3 separate regions of the Homo sapiens genome follow, and regions 1 and 2 are each linked to region 3. The links are contacts of gene promoters, found by promoter capture Hi-C in blood cells and fetal thymus (Javierre and others, 2016). All regions are on one chromosome and are shown on one strand. The core of a region is centred on a gene start or on the middle of the fragment in contact, and the rest is flanking DNA. Distances in the headings are between cores, read along the strand shown. Region 1 holds the start of EFCAB11 (EF-hand calcium binding domain 11). Region 2 holds the start of NRDE2 (NRDE-2, necessary for RNA interference, domain containing). Region 3 holds the start of BTBD7 (BTB domain containing 7).

Region 1 (4,633 bases), core at 1,888-4,387, 3.4 Mb after region 3:
GCTGGCAAAGCGGCCCTGAAATAAATCCTGTGTCATGTGTTAAGAGAATAAAGCAAACTGGGGAGAAGGCAGGTGAGTGTGAGTGAAATTTGGCAAACACTGCACTAACATGAAAAATCTAAGAAATCTTCCCACCAAATGCTAGCTCAGGACACTGTTAGCACTTTTATTAAGGACTTTAAAACATGTTGTGGATATAAAAGGGTACTCCATTTAGAGCTACTAGTGTTTCCTCACTCCCCACTATATGAGACCCAGCTGGGGCATTTCTCTTTCACCTCCAGCTGCTCCTTCTCATTGAGCTTAAAGACCATCAGCTGGGCCTGGAGGCCATGCTCCTCAATTGAGTTCCTGTGTGGCCAGTAATAGGCAAACATGGTCCCTTGTCTCAAACCCGGCCATGACTAGGGAGTAAATGTGCACTTGGGCAGGTTAGTTAACTGCTGAGCCTCAGTTTTTTAGTCTGTGAAATGGATATCATGCTTACCCCCTGGAGTTCATTCATTCAATAACTTACTGGGCAGCTATTATGTACCAAAAACTGGGAATGAGGCGTTAACAATATAGTTTCTACCCTAGCAGAGCTAATTTCAGGGCAGAAGAGACAGACCCACACATAAAAATTTTAATAGCCAAGATGAGTTAGACATTCATTACATTTTATAAGTATGAGACAGAAAAATAGGGGTGACCTTTGGAATATACTTAAAAAGTAACATATAAATGAGACCCAGAGGGCCAAAAGGAACCTGCTGTCTAAATGATGGGGTGAAGAGCATTCCCAAGTAGAGGGAACCCAGCCGGCAGAGGTGGGAAAGAGGTCATAAGAAAGGACTTAGGCAAGGCAGGCAGTGGTCCGAAGCGGGTGAGGGGAGAAGACTTGTTAAAGAAATTGGATTTTATGCAATGATCAATGGGACCCCACTGAGGGCTTTAAGAAGGGGAGTCCGATTTACATTTATTTTTTTGAGACAGAGTCTCGCTCTGCCGCTCAGGCTGGAGCGCAATGGCGCAATCTCGGCTCACTCCAACCTCTCTGCCTCCCAGGTTCAAGCAATTCTCCTACCTTAGCCTCCCGAGGAGCTAGGATTACAGGCATCCACCATCACGCTCGGCTAATTTTTCTATTTTTGTAGAGACGGGGTTTCACCATGTTGCCCGGGCTGATCTCAAACTCCTAACCTCAAGTGATTCAGCCGCCTCGGCCTCCCAAAGTGCTAGGATGACAGGCGTGAGTCACCGCGCCCGGCCTTCGATTTGCCTTTTTAATACAGCTGTGTGCTCCAACTCTGCGGAGAATGGGTTGAAGACAAAGGAAGTGAGAGGGCTCTTGCTGAAGGCGTTGGGGACGGAGCAGATTCAGAACGTGAGGAAGTGACGGCAGCAGCTGCTAACCTTACTGCGTGCTCATTTGGGGCCGGCCAGGCACGATTCGAAGCGCCTCACCAAGTGTAAACTCGCTTCACCCTCAGGACAACTCTATACTACGTACCGTGACCGTCCTCCTATACTGGGAAACCGAGCACAGAAAGCTTAAGCGCCTGGCACGTGGTGGGCGCTTTCCTACTCACTTTCTGGGACCACGCACCTGTAAGCTTAGGTCTGGGAATAAAAACCCGAGCAGGGGCCCCTAGCGCCGCGCCCCGGCAGGACACAGGTCTCCGCAGCGCCCGTGCGCGCCCCCTGAGGCGCTGTGATCGGAGGAAACCGAGGCCCCGGGGCCGAGGCGACCCTGCCCCATCTTCCCGGCCGCGCCGCTTCCTCGCGGTCCGCCTCCAGCCCTGCCGGACCCCAGCAGCCCGCGCACCGCGACTCGGCCAGGAGCAGGATCCCGGGCCCGACCGCAGCCCGCGAGAGACCGCACCGAGTCCGCGCCCACTGCCGCCCAACACGTACCTGAGGCGCACAGAACCAACGCTTGCCTCGGATCCCGCCCCTTCGGCGGCCGCCGCGCATGCGCGCAGTTCAAACCCTGGCGGCAGCGGCTTGTGCCTCGAGGCCCGGCCCCTTCCCCTTCCGGAGAGCCCACCGCTGGGTCCTAAAGCCCGCCGGGTGTTTACCCAGGACGGGGCTGGGGAAACCTGGTCTCTCCTAGCTCTTGGCTTACTTCCTGGAGACTTCTTAAAACGAGAGGAGAACCAGAAAGGCGTCCCCTAACTTCGCTCTAGTTAACTAATAGCAAGACTCACCCTCTTTACAGGATTCTCATGGCTCAGGCTCCCAGGGCTCCATGCAGCGGCGTTTGGTTTAAAGTGGAGAGAGGATACGCTTAGGTTAAAGGCAGCTGCAAGGAGACCTGTGTCCTGGGAGGGGCTGGGTGCAGACTTTGAAATCTGCTGCAAAATAAAAAGTTAAATGAGTTCCCATTGGACTCAGAACCTCGAATGTCTGTTCCTTCTTCGCAACAGTTGCGTTCTCGTAAAATCTTCTGAGAAAAGGAACTCGCCCCACGTTCCTTGCCTTTAATAAGGATGTTTGCTGTGGGATTTGGGCTCGGTGCTGTTTATGGTATTTATTCTTGGAATCTCTTTCACACTAGGCATCTCTTCCAGAGGACTGAGTGAAATACATCTGTGTAAATATAACGGCTCGTTTCGTTCTTTCATTGAAGATCTACTTTGTGCCAGGCACAGTGCTAGGTGCTGGGATTATCTTGAGGACATAACAGATGTAGTAGCTGCCCTAGGAGCTCGATCCCAATGACTTGCTGATCTGAACGAGAATCCTGGACTTGGCTCTTTTCGTTTGGTTCTTCTTGTTTGTTCACAGTCTTTTTGTCTCCTATAACGTTTAGCATAGTGTCATAGATCTAAATGATTAAAAGTAACCTATTGCAAGATGGAGGGAGAGAATGAAATAAATCATGAACCAGGCATTGAACCAGCACCTAGAAGCGCTTGGATTTCCAGCCGCGCTCAACGAGTTAAGGGACAGTCAGGGGGTGGAGCCAAGTGCTGGGGGCAGGCCTGGGCGCCTCACTGCCAGGGCGGCTCCAAGGAAACGTAATTAAACAAAGACTCTGGCCAATAGCCCTGCGGGATTAACGCGAGTGGCTGGCAGGTTGTCCAATGGGAGGAGACGTCGGAGTTGCGCGGTGAAGTTCGGCTTCCTGAGCCGCGGTGGGCGTGGCCGCGGTAGGCTGCCAGCCAGGCTGGGAAAGCGGTGGTAGCTGGTTGGGTTGCTGGGGCTCGGTTGTTGTAGTCGCGATGTTCTTCTCCGAGGCCAGAGCCAGGTCGCGGACGTGGGAAGCCAGTCCCTCGGAACACAGGAAGTGGGTGGAAGTAGGTTTCCGGAGGGCGACTGAGCCTCGGACTTCAGCTTGGCCTGGGCCTCTCGCTTCCTCTCCCGTGTCTGGGTCTCACTCTGCCGGGTGTGCAGATAAGACCTGGGCTGCCTGTCCAAAGGGTCGTGGTTAATGACTGATCCTGGAGCTGCAGGGCTCCTGGCTCCCCGTCCAGGACTACGGCTACCTCCAAGTTCCATCTCCTTTCTCTCTATATAGTCTATTAATGGTAACCTTGAGTCTGCATCTCTCCCGCCTTTCAAAGCCAGCCCCTTTGCCTCACCTTCCTAACTCCAGGACTGAATTTTGGGTAGAATTTATCTCAGTGGCCTAAATGAATTAATTTGCGTCACCTAGCGGTTAACTCGTTTGCACTTTGAGGGAAATTTCAGCCCATGTTTAAGAAAATTTCAGTCCATCTTTAAGATTTCTTGAGAATTAATATTGGGATAATGAAATTCTATTTTCATACTCTACCGCTGGGCCAAGTTTTAGATTTTCGAGGTCCAAACTGTATAATAAACTAGTAATAAAAATAAACCATTTCTGTCTCATTAACTAAAGCTATTTAATGTTCTTCAGGTATTTAAAGCATGTGATGAAGATCACAAAGGATATCTCAGCAGAGAGGACTTTAAAACTGCTGTTGTAATGCTGTTTGGGTACAAGCCCTCCAAGGTAGAGCTTTCTTATATATTTGGGGATGGGGTAGACGATCAAAGGTGAATGGATCCTAAGAAAAGTTCACAGGGCTAGCTTAGGATGTTTATAAATTGCTTTATAAGCAATTTCAGAGATGTGTCCAGTGCTGAATTTTAGCTTCCTCTTAACACCTCAGCCCAGAGATGAAGTAGAAATCTTTTCCACTGGAGTCTACACAAGCCTATCTCACCACCAGGCTGCTAATAACTACTATAAATACAAGATGCTAGAGAGGTGCCAAGAGGGAAGACTGAGAGGGGAGTGTTGGTAACAGGAGAAATTTACATAGGACATGACATAGTCTCTTTCTCGTTTTACTTTTGTTGCTTTGTTTATAAAATACATCCACGGTCAAAAAATTAAAACAGTGCAGAAAGGTATAAAGTTGAGCATAAAATCCGCTCGCCGCCTACCAGAGGGTCCCACTCCTAGGGGATTACCATTAACAGTTTTTTTGTGTAATTCTGAAATTTTCTATCCATGACATACATATGCATAGTCTTTTATTGAAAACATAAATGGGTAAATATTGTGCCTACTTTAACTTGCTTTTCTCATTTAACAATATATCAACCTAAAAGCACACACCACTACTGCATTTTAAAATATGGTTGCATATTCTTTTTAGCCAGGTTCCTGTCTGGGGTT
Region 2 (4,922 bases), core at 2,377-4,876, 3.0 Mb after region 3:
ATGAGATAGATGCAAAACAGCAACTTAACAGTCTAGAGTGAGTTATTTCTGCCACAAAGAAGAGAGATACTTAAAAGTGGTTGAGAAATTCAGTCCCTTCCTTTAGTCAAGCTATATACAAAGCCAAATCATTATCTGAAAACATCTTTGTTTATTCTGAGAAATCCCTGCCATATGCACTGGAAATACCCAAAGCCTATAGATTGAAATAGTAATAATAATAATAATAATAAAGTGAGTTGTTTTTATTCTTTCTGCGATTGTTTTTCAATGCAGAGAAGACTACTCAAAAGTTTACTTTTAGTTGACTCTAATAATAAAAAGTTTGCATAGGTCTAGAAAATTACGGCAATAGGTCAGGTTAGCCCACTGCCAATTGGTATGACCTATGCATTAAGAATGATTTTTACGTATATAAATGTTGAAAAAATAGGCAAATAACATTTTATGACATGTGAAAATTGTATAAAATTCAAATTTCAGTGTGGTTGCGACCACATGTCTTTTTTTTTTTTAGGTGGAGTCATGCTCTGTTGCCCAGGCTGGAGTGCAGTGGCACGATCTTGGCTCACTGTAACCTCTGCCTCCCAAGTTCAAGCAATTCTCCTGCCTCAGCCTCCTGAGTAGCTGGGAGTACAGGTGCCTGCCACCACTCCCGGCTAATTTTCGTATTTTTAGTAGAGACGGGGGTTTCACTATGTTGGCTAGGCTGGTCTCAAACTCCTGACCTCAAGTGATCCACCCGCCTCAGCCTCCTAAAGTGCTGGGATTACAGGTGTGAGCCACTGCATCCAGCCAATACCATATGTTTTATGTGACTCTTTCCAGAAAAAAATTTGCAGACACAGTGTTTAAAAGATTGGCATCCAATGTATTAAAAACAAATTGAAAACCCTTGTTTGTTCTTAAGCTTTTAAGAACTTGGTCAGTTACACACCTGTGATACCCCCACCATAAACAAGAGTCAGAATATTTCCATCAAGCCCAAAACATTCTCCACACCCCTCTGTGGAATATCCCTCTCTTCGTTCCCAGAGCAAGGGAAACACCGATCCACTCTCTGTCACTATATATTAATTTGTATTTTCTAGGATTTTGTATAAAGAGAATAACACAGTAAACACTCTTTGTGCCTGGCTTTTTATACCCAGCATACCAATTTTGAGATTCATTCATGTTGTATGTATCAGTAGTTTGTTCCTATTGTTATTATTATTGTTGAACAGCCATTATTTATACTCATTCTAAGGCTTCTAACTTCTTGTCCAAAAGCTTTTTTCAACTAGGGAGGGTGAGCTTTGCTCATGGTGTCTATTTCGTGAGCTCAGAGCTGCCTCGAAATGGAATCTTCAGCCTCCCTCATGCTCCTGCAATAGGACCCCATTATTCTTATAAAGCTAACCAATTACACTTACAAATATGGCGAGCTTTAGATTCTCTTGGATATCCTGAAACTGCTTAAACCTCATTAAGATTTCAATTTACTGCCGGCCATGGTGGCTCACACCTATAATCCCAGCACTTCGGGGTGCTGAGGCAGATGGTCGAGACTGGAGTGAGCCATGATCGCACCACTGCACTCCAGCCTGGGCGAGAGAGGAGATCTTGTCTCAAAAACAAAACAAACACAAAAAGATTTTAACTTAAAACCAGGAGTCTGTATCAGTTACTTGATTATACACTTTCAGTTGTTCTTATGAGGAGGGTCTCTTGAGCAACATTCTCTTATACATTTGTAAGTACACAATATACCTAGTATACCCAGATTCCTTTGTATTACAGAAACATTATTATTATGGTTTTAATTTCTTAAAACTTCCATATTAATTCTTACTTTTCTGGGGTGGAAAGATAGGAGGCATTGGGATAGACTATTTCCATCCCAGTTACCTGAAGTGATCTGCTAAGAAAGACAAATGCTGCCCCAATTAATTGAGGTAACTTAGAGTCAAAGATTTTGGCAGAACCTGAGATTTAAAGTTGAAGACATACAGGAATTACTGCCCCTATTGTCATACTAAGCTCCTTTTTGTAAGTACTCTGCCAGGGACTTCAAAGCATTAAGGGTGTCTATTTTGGACTCATAGAACCTAATTCTTATGCAGGTCTGCAGACTTCATCAGAGTCCATCCATTCCTTGATTAGATGATTACATTTGCATCTCTGGTTTATAATGTATTTCCTAACTAAAGATCTTTAACTCCCTAGGATCCCAATAAATATATCTTCATTTACCTATCTATTTTCACTTGCAAATATTTCAGTATATATCTCTAATATATAAGAACTTTAAAAAGTAATCTCAGGCTGGGTTGGGGGGTGCTCAGGCACAGGCACCCAGCACTTTGGGAGGCAGAGGGGGGCAGATCGCTTGAGCCCAGGAGTTCGAGACCAGCCTGGGCAACATGGTGAAACCCTGTCTCTATTAAAAAAAAAAAAATTAAGCCAGACATGGTGGTGTATGCCTGTGGTTCCAGCCACTTGGGAGGCTGAGGTGAGGGGATTGCTTGAATCGAGGAGTTCGAAGCTGCAGTGAGCAGAGATCGTACCACTACACTCCAGCCTGGGTGGCAGAAGGAGACCTTGTCTCAAAATAAATAAATAAGGGTCACCTCAGTGACATAAGTACTTTAGTACATCTAACAGAATTCACAAGAATTACTTGTGAATTGCTTGTACTCTGCCTACCTTCTTATTTCTCCATCTATCTTAAAAAGGTCTTTTTACAGTTTGTCCAATCAGAATTATAATGAGGCCACAAATATGTTGTATTTGCTTGATGTGTCTGTAAGATCTTCGTATCTATTACAATCTCCTGCCCTCTTAAAGCCCTTGATATGTTAAGGAAGCACGGTTGTTTTCTATAATTTCCCATATTCTAGATTTGGCTAATTGTTTCTTGGTAGTACAAAGTCTTCTAAGTTGTTCCTTTACTCTCTATATTTCTGGTAGCAAGTGTGATTAGATTTTGGGTGGGAGGAACCGGGGTCAAGAATGCTTCACAGACAGGTATTTCCTAACTATCAAAGACCCTTGAACTTGATGGGACTTTCCATTTTTCCTTGTTCTGGGGTATTTAATATGGTAACCTGATTGAAGTTCGGATATCTCACATGACTTTGAGCCGAACTTGCAGTCGTAATTCACATAATAGCTAACACATATTAAGTGCTTTTCATGGGCCGGACTCAATGCTAGGCCCTTTATAAATATGTTCATTTAATCTTCTCAATATTTTGCAGATAAGGAAAGTAATGCTTAGAGCGTTTAAGTTGACCCAGTTAGCAAGGATGGTGTGAATTTAGGGGTCGAACTGGAATCCCAATTTCCTTAGTCCCTTTCGCGGTCAACAATTCCCTTCTCCGGTTTTCGCAGTTCCGGTTCTCACAGGGTCCCAACCACTAGGAACCCGTCACTCCTCGCTCCGCCCCCCTTGGCCCCGCCCCACCCTGCTTTGCCCTGCCTCTCCCTGCCCCGCCGCGCCCCAGTCCCTTGACGACCCTCCTCTCTGGGCCCCGCCCCTCCCGCTTCGGGGTCAAGCCCCAGAGAGCGCCGCGAAAACCACATTTCCCAGAGTGCACCGCGACGGCAGGGGTCCTCAGACCGGCGCTCGCTCGCCGGCGCCATCCCTATAGAGAAGAACGGAGGTACGGCCTGTGGTCATGGCGCTGTTCCCAGCCTTTGCGGGGCTTAGTGAGGCTCCCGATGGCGGGAGCTCCAGGAAAGGTAAGCACACAAACGAGCCGAAGAAGGCACCTGGGGGGCTTAAGAGGCTGTTTCTCGGGCCCAGGTCTAGACTTTTGCTTTGGATTTGTGTATCCATTTGTATCCCAGAGTTCTCCGCGGCGCTGCAAAGCCTTCTGGGAAAGGCTCAATCCCTCCGAGGTCTGGGGCCCAGAGGCCTGTTCTGGACCAAGGTTGTAGAGTTATGGAGGGGTGGAGAAAGACCAGCAGATGCCCTGGAGCTGGGACTTCTGTACGATGTTGTTAGGTCCTGTTCTTCTTTTCGAGCCTCAGTTACTTCATCTTTAAATTGGGAATAATGATACTCGACATCTCGAGGAAACCCTTGATGCAAATGCAGAATGTTTTTATTACATATTACTTCCTTTCCTGTTATACTTATTTCTGAAATGCTTATTAGATTGGTATTACTTAGCGGCCTAGAGCTAGGGGATTAGTATCCAAAACCTAATCAGTTTCTCTCTGGAGGGGCACAGCACCCAGTGAAAATAACTAACATTTATTCTTGAGGGCCTAGTGTGTATCAGGTTATGGCTTTACACATTTTACTTAAGTCCCAGACATTTCCAGCAGAGCTGCATTGTTCAAAATTGGGGTACATAGTTCATTTAAGAAGTAATTAATCCTGGCCAGGAGCAGTGGCCCACACCTGTAGGTGGAAGGATAGTTTGAGCCCGGGAGTTCATGACCATCATGATCAACATAGCGAGACTCCTGTCTCTTAAAAAAAAAGCCAGGCGTGGTGGTGCACACCTATAGTATCAGCTCCTCAGGAGGCTGAGGTAGGAGGATTGCTTGAGCCCAGAAGTTTGAGGCCGCAGTGAGCCATGATCGTGCCGCTGCATCCTGCCCTGGGGTGGGGGGACCTTGTCTCTAAAAAAAAAAGAAAAAAAAGTAATTCTAAATTATGTGCCATATGTGACAGGGCGCAATTGAGTCTTACCTGTCTGTTATATCCTCTAATATAGTTCCTACACTTTCTGTAACGTTTCTCCTAATTTTTTTTTTTTTTTTTGAGACAGGGTCTCACTCTGTTGCCCAGGCTGGAGTACAGTGGCACTGTCATAACTCACTGCCGCCTCAGACTCCTGGGCTTAACTTCCTGCCTCAGCCTCATGAATAGCTGGAACTACTGGTGTGCACCACCAGGCCTGGCTAATTTTTTTTAATATTTAGTA
Region 3 (4,566 bases), core at 1,241-3,740:
TGTTAACCACTACTTAGTACCATCTTAACACTAGCCTTAAAAAAATGTTTTTCACTCTGTCTTCTTATTTAGATTCTAAGCTCCTTAAGTACAAAGATCCATTTATTTTTTACCCCCAGCATGTAGTACCGTGCTTGGCACATGGTACTGGATACTTTAAATGTGTATCGGACTGAACTAAAATAAACATCTAAATTCTGATGAGTGTGTAAACTGAGCTAATTCAGGATCTCAAAAGTACAGTTAAATGGTATAATAAGGAAACAGTGAATGAATTAAAGGGTAGAAAAAAATCATGGATCACTTACAAATGGTTTCTAGATCCAAACAGTCTACTAGAAGTCTCCAGCTGTGCAGATAGACAAAAGGACAAGGTGCAACCAGCAGACCTTACTTGGCTTTTCAAAAAGTTTTAGATTTCCACATCAAAGGCTGTTAGAAAAAGTGTTATCCTGAAATTACTTAGAATTCTATTGTTGTTGATACCATTTTAATTTTGTTTTTTAAATTGTGGCTAGGAAATAGAAGCAAAGTCAAGTAATAAAGGTTAGTAATAAGTGTAAACAGTGGGGACTGATCTTATTTAACATTTCCATAAATTATAAAGAAGCAGTGTTTACACACCGCTTTTTAGTTTGCTAATCATAGCTCTTTCAGTTAATGCAATACAGTCATCCCCCATATACTATATACGTGGGATTGGTTCCAGGACCCACCACATATACCCCAATCCAAGCATACTCAAGTCTGCCTGTCCGTCCTGTGGAATGTGAGTATAAGAAAAGTCGGCCCTCTCAATACGGTGTTTAGAATCCCATGTACCAGGTTGCATTGATCGATCCGCACAGTTCAAACCCGTGTTGTTCAAGTGTTAACTGTATTTAGCAAATTAAGACAAAGGTAAAATGATGGAAAATAACAGTAAATGGCTTGAATTTAGATAAGGTTCACTTACGCCTTTGGGGAAGTATAAAAGTGTGGAACAAGAGGTGGACACTCAGAGGTAATCATTGGCTCCAATTAGATGGACCTATTTCTTTTATATTTTCTCACTTTTCCATGCATTTCTTGTCTATCGCCCTGAGGCTGTATGTTCAACTGAAGTGACCCTTACCAGCTAGAGGGGAATTTCAGGCAAGGGACTGCTACAATCTCTGCTACAATCTCCAAACCTTCAAGGATTGGGTAAGAGGGTGAAAAGGGTGAGATGGGTAAAGAAAATGAAGTAATACAAATTGGAAAGAGCTATCCTTTTCAAGGAAGTAAGGTGATGAAGAATGAGGGTGAGGAAAATACAAATCTGAAGGAAGTCCAGAGGAAAACAACAATGATATTGTCTCCAACTGAATATGAAAAGCATAAAATAATGGAGGGTCAAGAGATGGTTAAAAACACATCACAAAATTCCAAATTGCTCTTATCCTTTGAAGCTTAGAGGTGGTTTCAGAACAACAACAACAAAAAACTGTGTGACACAAAACTTGTTAAACAATGGGTAGAGATTGAAAATGCAAATACAATACTTTCAAATAAATTCCCAGAGTTGCTAATGTCTATCAGAGGAAAAGGAGGTGTAACGGTGCCTCCTCACTGGGTTCAGAATGCCTGGGTTCTGATCTTGGCTTGCCTACTTGTTAGTATTTCTGAGCCTGTCTCCTTGGTTGTAAAACAGCAATAAAAACACCTATCCTGACTACCACAAAGGGTGGCTTTGGCGTTCAAATGAAACCATGGATCTCTCTGGAAAACGACAGTGCCCCATAAATACAGTATTTTTGTTATTGCATCGCTGAAATTATTGCAAACCCCCAAACAAGGGGCATCTAGGGAAGAGCGACTTGGCTCTCCCACGTGGCGACTGTGTGTTTTCATCAATTTTGTCCTTTGTTTACAGGGGTATCTTGTTAAGGAAAACTTTTCAGTGTCTTAAAGATTATTTTTTAACCTACTACACAAGTAGCAAGGTGGTGCCTGTAAAAGTACCATGCAGACAAGTGCTTACGATAGACAAGTGCTCACTGCCAAGAAGCAGCCACCGGAATGCCAGGACTGTCAGCAATGACTTTCCGCGGAAGAGTTGTTCTCGAGAAAGATGCACTCATTGCATGCGACCACCCGAGGGACGCCGGCCGCCGAACGGAAACATGAATTCGTGGAAATGGCCATCTGGTGACGTAGTAGTGACACAGTTCTTATATTCTGATACATTTAATAATGTGTCACAATTCGCTGGACTAAGCAGGATGCTGCCACAAGAGGCAAACTCCCAGCGACCCGACGCCCGGCTCCCAGCCGACGAGCAAAAATAATGCGCGCGCACTCCGCTCCCATGGATCCAGCGAACGCACCGCCCCCCCACGCGGCCCGACTCGCGCGGCGACGTCGGGCCACGTGACCCTGAGCGGGACGACGGCAGGGGAGGGCGGGGGCTCCGGCCGGCTCCGCAGCGCCGCGCAGGCGCCCCAGGGCCACGCCGAACCGAGCCCCTCCTGCTCCGTCTAGGAGTCAAAATGGCGGCGAGGGGAACCTGGAGCAGTCCCGGAGCCTGAGCCACTGACAGGAGAGGAGAGGGCGGCGGCGGCGGCGGTGGGAGGAGGATGGCCGGGGGTGCTGGCGCCGGTGCGGACGGCGGTGCTGGTGGCGGCGGCGGCGGAGGCGACGGCAGCGGTCCCAGCGGCAGCAGCAGCGGCGGGAGGAGCCTCCGGGGTGAGTGTCCCTTGGTGTCTCTGAGGCTGTGGAGCCGAGGCTGTGTCCGGTGTGGCGCGGGGCGTCCGGGAGAGGAAGGGGCTGTTCTTAGGCGTGGGGGCGCCGGGGCTGGGGCCAAGCCGCCGCGGGAGGCGCTGGGGCGCCGGGCGGGGAGGGGCCAGTCGTCCGTCTGGGGCTGAGGCGCGGCGGCGCCGGACTGGCCGGTCTCTGTGCGCTCCGAGGGGCGGGCTGGAGCGCGCCGCCGTCCCTGGGGCAGGGGCGCGAGGTGTGGCGCTCGGGGCGGGGAGAGCGGCCCGAGGGAGTCGCGACGGCAGCCCGGCCGGCTTTGGGCTCCGGGCGCCGAGGGGCGGGACCCGTCGCTCCCAGGACGCTGAGAAACCGCTCCCGAGACGGGGGCGCGTGTTTACCCGGGTGCGGGGTTGCGACCGCCAGGGGTGGGCGTGAGAGTGGCCGGCGGGGTCTGGGAAGGGAGCAGGCCTGAGGACTGCTACTCCCAGGGGAAGTTAGATTGTCCGGGTAAGTTACTATTGCGGGATAAACCTGGAATTGAGCTTTGACAGGTTGGGAGGGAGACAATACCGAGTGTTTGATAAAGAAGAGGAGGCTGTGCTTGTTGGACTACTTGAATGGCAAAAAGTGTGCATATTTCAGTACCTTATTTGCACAGTGTTTGCTAGCTTTACCCCGAGGGTGAGAACTTTCTCACCGTTTTTCAAGAAACTCTGAGGAGTGTTGTTTCTCCTGTGAACTACAATTGCACGTCTTCACATACCAGCACAGATAATAAGTACTCTGGAGTAGGCCTAATTTACAGAAGCAGTCTTGGTTATCTACACCAGAGCACTGTTAACTCTGCGAAAACATCTTACTGTAATGAGAAAGTAGACATTTTTACAGAATTACTTAGCTTTTTCAACTAACAACCTTTTTGGGGGGGGGGAGACGGAGTCTCGCTCTGTCACCCAGGCTGGAGAACAGTGGTGCGATCTCGACTCACTGCAACCTCCGCCTCTCAGGTTCAAGCGATTCTCCTGTCTCAGCCTCCCAAGTAGCTGGGATTACAGGCGCCCGCTGCCACGCCCGGCTAGTTTTTGTATTTTTAATAGAGACGTGGTTTCACCATGTTGGCCAGACTGGTCTCGAGCTCCTGACCTCTGGTGATCCGCCCGCCTCGTCCTTCCGAACTACTGGGATTGCAGGCGTGAGCCACCGCGCCCGGTCTGGTCAACTAACAATCTTTTGTCCCTAATAGCATCTGTTTCCTTTAGATTGCTGAAATGAATTGCTTTCTTCCTGAAATGTGGAAGAAAGACTTGAAATTGCTTTGCAAGAATCATACGTTGTTAATAGCAACTGTTATTAGACTTGTCATGGAATTTTGGAGTCAGAAAAACTTTTAGAGATCTAAAGGTGTGAATATTGTTTTAGAGCCGGGAAACCAGACCCAGAGAGGCGAGTGACTTGTTGTGGATCCTACAGCTGGCGATGGATTAGACCAAAACTAAGATGTAGGCCTCTACACCCCATTACCCCATTTAGAGAGCTCATTGTTACTACACTGCTGAGCTGCTTACTTTTCATTGATTGCATTCTTCACCATTCACTACCTACCCCTATCCATAGGGTTTTGGTGTAATAAAGTTGAAAGCGAAAATGAGAGCCTCTGTCTCATTCTGACAGCTACTTCAAGTAACTGATGAAGATTTTTTTTTTTTCCTAACCTGAACTTAATAAAAACGGAGTGATATTTCGTTTGGAGTTTTCTTAGGCTCATGACTACATTTTCACCCAGTTTTAGCATGGCTCATTCTTGCATGAATTCAGTAAAACTCATAGGTCAATATTCTGTCCCACAAAACC

Evidence for each region. Contacts are between HindIII fragments. The CHiCAGO score rates a contact against its expected background, and 5 or more counts as called.
Region 1: the fragment with the promoter of EFCAB11 here is called in contact with the fragment with the promoter of BTBD7 in region 3 in 1 of 17 cell types (non-activated CD4 T cells); the score reaches 5.7 in non-activated CD4 T cells.
Region 2: the fragment with the promoter of NRDE2 here is called in contact with the fragment with the promoter of BTBD7 in region 3 in 3 of 17 cell types (fetal thymus, total CD4 T cells and naive CD8 T cells); the score reaches 10.6 in fetal thymus.

The regions. Positions count from the first base shown.
Region 1 is chr14:89,953,234-89,957,866 of GRCh38, reverse strand. EFCAB11 (EF-hand calcium binding domain 11) reads left to right here and starts at 3,137. Exons shown (of 6, transcript NM_145231.4): 1 at 3,137-3,281; 2 at 3,866-3,961. The coding sequence starts at 3,207. TDP1 (tyrosyl-DNA phosphodiesterase 1) reads right to left here and starts at 1,940. Exons shown (of 17, transcript NM_018319.4): 1 at 1,897-1,940; 2 at 1,067-1,289. RefSeq lists a silencer at 1,613-1,842 and an enhancer at 2,908-3,408. The HindIII fragment of the contact is 3,728 bases long and covers 1,598-4,633 here.
Region 2 is chr14:90,330,645-90,335,566 of GRCh38, reverse strand. NRDE2 (NRDE-2, necessary for RNA interference, domain containing) reads left to right here and starts at 3,626. Exons shown (of 14, transcript NM_017970.4): 1 at 3,626-3,726. The coding sequence starts at 3,663. RefSeq lists a silencer at 3,393-3,542 and an enhancer at 3,693-3,872. The HindIII fragment of the contact is 5,093 bases long and covers 1,275-4,922 here.
Region 3 is chr14:93,330,960-93,335,525 of GRCh38, reverse strand. BTBD7 (BTB domain containing 7) reads left to right here and starts at 2,490. Exons shown (of 11, transcript NM_001002860.4): 1 at 2,490-2,706. It also overlaps a transcript of UNC79 not described here. The HindIII fragment of the contact is 5,146 bases long and covers 1,433-4,566 here.